Regions from separate parts of the Homo sapiens genome. Here region 2 is linked to region 1. Evidence: promoter capture Hi-C in human tissues and cell types (Jung and others, 2019). All regions are on one chromosome and are shown on one strand. Each heading gives the region's core, a stretch centred on a gene start or on the middle of the fragment in contact. The rest is flanking DNA. Distances are from core to core; before and after follow the strand shown.

Region 1 (3,278 bases), core at 325-2,824:
AAATTTACATTTCTTTACACTGAATTCAAAACCTTCACGACTTTCCACCTCTTACAAAATCAAGTTTTGACTCCTTAGCCTAAAAGACTTTAAAATCTACCTCCAATTTACTGTTCTAATATACCTCTTTCCAATTCTGCTCAGAAAACTCTACAGGCACATGTCTTTGCTCTTTGTCCTTTCCACTTTGCCCTTTATCCTTTGTCCTTCTTTAGTCTCTTTTGAGTTTATGTTGTTCCTCTAACCTAGAACACAACAGTTTCTCCCTCTTATCTAAACCCTCCACATCCTTCAAAGCCAAATTCATGTCCCATTTCCTCAAAAAAACTTTCCCTACCAGGGAAAGGACTTTGTGTTGATTCCTTGGCATTTATTATGAGCCACTTTTTATTCAGTATGATTTTCATATACTCTCCTTTCTGATTAAATTATAGAAGTCTTTAAGGGCAGGAACTATCTTTTACCTCCTTATAGTCTCAGTACCTAGCACCATGCCTTGCACATAGCAGAAATTTTTATTAAGTATTATACTTGAATATTTCTGAATAATTATTAAACAATATTGGTGTAGCTTTTGTTACATACCCCAAAACACATATATCTTGTATCACTATAAAATTACAAAATGTAGATAAGATAGAGTATTACACTTGTTTCTCCATAATATGAATCAGTACGTGTGAACTAAAATATTTTATGCAATTTTTTATTCCATAACAATTTTTTCTTTTGACTTAGATGATTAAGGCAAAAGAAGCAAACCTTTAGAAACTTTATTTCTCTCATCGCAATTTTGTTGACAGATTGTTCTGGTCTCTCATAAAATATCTTAATGGCCACTATCTGCCCAGTATTCTTATGTTTACATTTCATGACTGTTCCGTAACTTCCCTCTCCCACTTTTCCAAGGGTTTCATACATCTCCATTTTCAAGCTGGGCTTTTACTACTTTATAGAAATAAAGAAAGAAAATGGAAAATGTTAAACGTTTATACTTTTATTTATTAAAACTAGATAATGCATATCCACAATAAACCCACAGTCTCAAATATAGAGACATTAAAAAAAAAAAAGGAATCTTTTCCACTGAGCCTTTTTGTCTTTGGGAACTAAAGACAGCTTGAGTAAGGTGTCCTTCTGAGGCTCCACCTCTCACCAGAACTTAGGGGTACTCCTGCTGTCTCGGTCATGCCCATCAACACTGAGACTACCACACTATAAGTCACCATCCATCAAGCATGGGGTCCCTACACTTCCTGTCATGTTCCTGTCAAATAATAGGTTCCCGCACTACTGCAGTCGCCCACTTATCAGGCCCAAGGTCCTAAAAAAAGCCTGGTCTCGCCCGCAACTCAAACCACACGTCTTAGGATGCCGGACCGGCGTCACGCCCCACGTCCCGCTGTTGACTTTATCCAAACAGCCGCCGCCGCCTCAGCCCATTCTGTGGTCCCGCTGGTCTGGCTCTGCGTAGTTCCAGTGGAGCCACCGAACACTGATACTACTTTGTTGCTCAGCCCCGCAAGGAACCGGCCACTTGCCACCATGGAAACGCCGGCGGAGTTGCTGCGTTCTAGACTCGTGCGCAAGACCGGAACATGGGCAGGGTCCCGACCCGGAAGGGGAAGTGGGAAGAAACGGAAACCTACTCTGGGTAGGCGCAAGGTGGAAGAGTGCTGTGCTTGGGAATGGGGGAGGGGAGTACAGATTGCTGTCGCAGCTGAGCCTCCTCACAAGGTTGCTTTTGAATGTGGATAGGAAGGATCTGCATCTTTTTTTTTTTTTTTTTTTTTTTTGAGATAGTCTAGCTCTGTCGCCCAGGCTGGACTGCAGTGTCGCTGATCTTGGCTCACTGCAACCTCCTCCTTCCAGGTTTAAGTGATTTTCCTGCCTCAGCCTCCCGAGTAGCTGGGATTACAGGCGTGTGCCACCACGCCCGGATAATTTTGTATTTTTAGTAGAGACGGGGTTTCTACCATGTTGGCCAGGCTGGTCTCGAACTCCCAACATCAGGTGATCCGCCTGCCTCGGCCTCCCAAAGTGCTGGGATTACAGGCGTAAGCCACCGCCCCCGGTCAAGATGGTTCTTAAATCAAAAACTTTTCTTGAACACTTGCCATATGCCTTTTAATTTTTTCCAACTGCTAGTAATCTTTTTTAAAGAAAAAAAACCTCCCTCACCACATGTCAAACTCTAGGAAAGCAAGTAATTCGAAGAGTTCCACCATATACGAAATGATGTACAAGAGCACGGAAATAAAGAGGCCAGTGTCTAACTGCTTAAGTAGACATAGAGTTCAACTGGAATGACAGTCCCTAATGAATAACCACCATATCACTAGACCAAGTGCCTAGGGAGTGCTTTCTTTATTGAATAGGGCTTTCTTTGCTTTCTTCTATAAAATGAGTTAAATGTAAAAAAGCGAAATCTCGCTATGCTTCCGCTAAATAAGAGGAAAGGCATTATTTAATAAATCTAGTCTGGTGGGTCCCACCCAGCATGCATATTTAAATCACACCTGGAGAGCTTTTAGAAAGCATCCCAACCCCCACCTCCACACCCCTGCCCCAATGCCAGAGCACCTGATTTAATTGGGATAGCGTAAATAAATTAGTATTTTTGAAGCTTCTCAAGTTTTTTCTATGCTGCTAGGGTTTATATTGAGAGAAAGGAGAAGTGGTCATCGTTTTCATTGATCACCTAAAATATTCAGAATTGTCTTTTCTTTGAAGGTTATTCAGACGGGCGCAGTGGCTAACGCCTGTAATCCCAGCACTTTGGGAGGCCCAGGCGGGCGGATCACGAGGTCAGGAGATCGAGACCATCCTGGCTAACACGGTGAAACCCCATTTCTACTAAAAAATAGAAAAAATTAGCTGGGCGTGGTGGCGGGCGCCTGTAGTCCCAGCTACTCGGGAGGCGGAGGCAGGAGAATGGCGTGAATCCGGGAGGCGGAGCTTGCAGTGAGCGGAGATCGCACCACTACATTCCAGCCTGGGTGGCAGAGCGAGACTCCATCTCAAAAAAAAAAAAAAAAAAAAAAAGAAAGTTATTCAACCACAATATAAAATACCTTCTATAAATAAGAATGTCATAGTAAATCTTATAGTGGGCTCAAACTTGGTGTAAGCATATTATTTGTTGTGGGCTAAATATTTGCAAGGAGGCTGCGCACAGTGGCTCACACCTGTAATCCCAGGGAGGCCAAGGTGGGCAGATCACTTGAGCCCAGGAGTTCCAGACCAGCCTGGGCAAGAGGGCAAAACTCCATCTCTAC
Region 2 (3,278 bases), core at 533-3,032, 80 kb before region 1:
GGGTCTGTAATGGGAGGGGCTGCCGCAAACGTCTCTGACATGTCCTGGAGACATTTTCCCCATTGTCTTGGGGATTAACAGTCAGCTCCTCATTGCTTTTGCAAATTTCTGCAGCTGGCTTGAATTTCTCCTCAGAAAATGGGATTTTATTATCTATTGCATTGTCAGGCTGCAAATTTTCTGAACTTTTATGCTTTGCTTCCCTTATAAAACTGAATGCCTTTAATAGCATCCAAGTCACCTCTTGAATGCTTTGCTGCTTAGAAATTTCTTCCACCAGTTGGGTGCAGTGGCTCATGCCTGTAATCCCAGCACTTTGGGAGGCCAAGGCATGTGGATCACGAGGTCAAGAGATTGAGACCATCCTGGCCAACATGGTGAAACCCCGTCTCCACTAAAAATACAAAAATTAGGTGGGTGTGGTGGCACATGCCTATAGTCCCAGTTACTCAGGAGGCTGAGGCAGGAGAATCACTTGAACCCAGTAGGCACAGGTTGCAGTGAGCCAAGATCATGCCACTGCACTCCAGACTGGTTATAGAGTGAGACTGTCTCAAAAAAGAAAAAAAACAACAACAACAAAAAGAAATTTCTTCCACCAGTTACCCTAAATCACCTCTCTCAAGTTCAAAGTTCCACAATCTCTAGTGCAGGGGCAAAATGCTGCCAATCTCTTTGCTAAAACATAACAAGAGTCACCTTTGCTCCAGTTCCCAACAAGTTCCTCATCTCTATCTGAGACCACCTCAGCTTGGATTTTATTGTCCATATCATGATCAAGCTTCTGGTCAAAGCCATTCAACAAGTCTCTAGAAAGTTCCAAACTTTCCCACATTTTCCTGTCTTCTTCTGAGCTCTCCAAACTGTTCAAACCTCTGCCTGTTACCCAGTTCCAAAGTTGCTTCCACATTTTTGGGTATCTTTTCAGCAATGCCCCACTCTACTGGTACCAATTCACTGTATTGGTCTGTCTTCATGCCGCTGATAAAGACGTACCTGAGACGGGACAATTTACAAAAGAAAGAGGTTTATTAGACTTACAGTTCCACATGGCTGGGGAGGCTTCACAATCATGGTGGAAGGCAAGGAACAGCAAGTCATGTCTTACATGGATGGCAGCATGCAAAAAGAGAGGGAGCTTGTGCAGGAAAACTCCCCCTTGTAATAACCATCAGATCTCATGAGACTTACTATTATGAGAACAGCACAGGAAAGACCTGCCCCCATGATTCAATTACCTCCCACCAGGTCCCTCCTACAACACGTGGGAATTCAAGATGAGATTTGTGTGGGGACACAGCCAAACCCTATCAGTAAGGCTGAAGAAACAGCAAAATGATAAAGTGGAAACATTTAGCAAACATATAGAGACTGTAGCTTCAGGTAAATGTCTGTGGAAGAACTACAAATTTTGGAGAAATACCCTCAGAGGTGGTAGCCAAGCTATAAGAGTAACATACTTCTCTCAAGGAACAGGGAAGAGTGGAGGCCTTAAGAACTGCCAGGGAAACAGGTAGGAAGAAAAATTATCAGTAGAACAGAAAAGCACTTAGAATTAAGAAGAAAATGATGACATGTGACAAAAAAGAAGGCGCGCTTTGAGGAGGAAAAGATGATTCATAGTGTGAAATGTGACACAAAGATCAGGAAAAATAAGGATTTTTTAAAAGTCACTGAATTTGACAATTAGGTGATAACTGGTGCCCATCAAAAGCAAGTTTTTATTACTCTGGTGAAAACAGAACCCTGACTCAATTATTTAATGGATCGAATTTTAATTTTATTCTTCAAGGGGTGTTAAACACAAGAGAGTGTTCCCTATCCTTGTGACTCTATTCTGTGTTCCTTCTTCCAAAGGAAAGGTAATGAGTGCCACACAGCAGCAACCCACTGAGCAACCAGTTGTATCCCCTTTCACTTATGACAACTTCACGTGGTCAAAGGACTTAGAGCCAAGACTCCCAATCATCACATGGATGCTACCCAACAGATTTCAAGACCTAGCCAATTGATTGCCAATTCAGCTGCCCCTGCCACTGCCATTGCCATAACCTACTTGTTTGCATGAGTTTTGGTGGCTATGGAGAACCAAATAGGAGCAATCCTATCAGCAGAGGCATATTTATTGAAAGCCAATGTAGTCCCTCACTTGCACAGGCTGCACCCAAAGCCATGGAAACAGCCCTTCTAATTTTGCCTTTGAAATTTTGTGTTTCCTCCTCAAAAAGAGCCCTCATTTAAAAGTATCAGCTTCCATAAAACCTGGATCTGCCTAAATTAACCAGTAACTCATCTTCTCGACACCTTACCACAGCTATGTTTGTAACTTTACTTTTTTTTTTTTTTTTGAAATGGCGTTTCACCCTTGTTGCCCAGGCTAGAGTGCAATGGTGCAATCTCAGCTCACCACAACCTCTGCCTCCCAGGTTCAAGTGATTCTCCTGCCTCAGCCTCCCGAGTAGCTGGGATTACAGACATGTGCCACCACACCCAGCTAATTTTGTATTTTTAGTACAGATGGGGTTTCTCCATGTTGGTCAGGGTGGTCTCGAACTCCTGACCTCAGGTGATCTGCCCGCCTTGGCCTCCCAAAGTGCTGGGATTATAGGCATGAGCCACCAAGCCTGGCCTGTAACTTTACTTTTAAAACTCCACTAACACTCAAAAACTCTGAGAAAATCCAATGTAACCCCAAATGATAAAAGTTGGAAAGTGTTGAGCTAAACTTGCTTTTCTCAGGGTGGAAAAGAATTACAGTACTAGTATCTCTTTTTTGACATGGTACAACTCTAACTGGGTCTCCAGAGATTAATTTTCTTCCAAACCACAATAGCGGACACATTATACAGCTCTCTTTTAAAACTGTAAATGCCATGTTTTTTCTTGTATTTAATGAAACACTTTATGCCTGCAGAACAGATAACTCATGCCAACTTTATGTCTAAATAAATGGTGACCAGTGCACAGATACCCTAGGAGTTTCACAGGCAGTATGCAACAAGAGTAGAGGACACTTTCAGACCTAATTTATTCCCAAAGGGAATTAAGTCAGGATAAACTCAGATAACTCGCATAACAAAACTTAAAGACCATAATTCTTCATCCTTGAAGAAGACACAGAGACCCAGTGAACTACTAAATTTCATCACTACAAACCCACTGTGTCCTGTGTGTGTTAAACCTTGAGTCCTCACAATATCTCTAGGATAAGCTATTTTGTCCCCATTATCCAGCTGGGAAAACTGAGGCAGCAAAGCACCAAACAGGTTTCCAATGAA

What was found. The method cuts DNA at HindIII sites, captures the fragments that hold promoters and counts their contacts. A contact is called where the count stands out against the background at its distance.
Region 2: a contact is called between a fragment that was not itself captured here and the fragment with the promoter of CDKL3 in region 1, in 2 of the 25 tissues and cell types used here (mesendoderm cells and thymus).

The regions. Positions count from the first base shown.
Region 1 is chr5:134,365,597-134,368,874 of GRCh38, forward strand. It overlaps CDKL3 (cyclin dependent kinase like 3), which reads right to left and starts at 1,575. Exons shown (of 13, transcript NM_001113575.2): 1 at 1,381-1,575; 2 at 763-948. The coding sequence starts at 927. The HindIII fragment of the contact is 10,082 bases long and covers 1-3,278 here.
Region 2 is chr5:134,285,564-134,288,841 of GRCh38, forward strand. It overlaps a transcript of CDKL3 not described here. Among named protein-coding and RNA genes, the nearest start is that of PPP2CA-DT, 61 kb to the left of the region's middle. The HindIII fragment of the contact is 7,286 bases long and covers 1-3,278 here.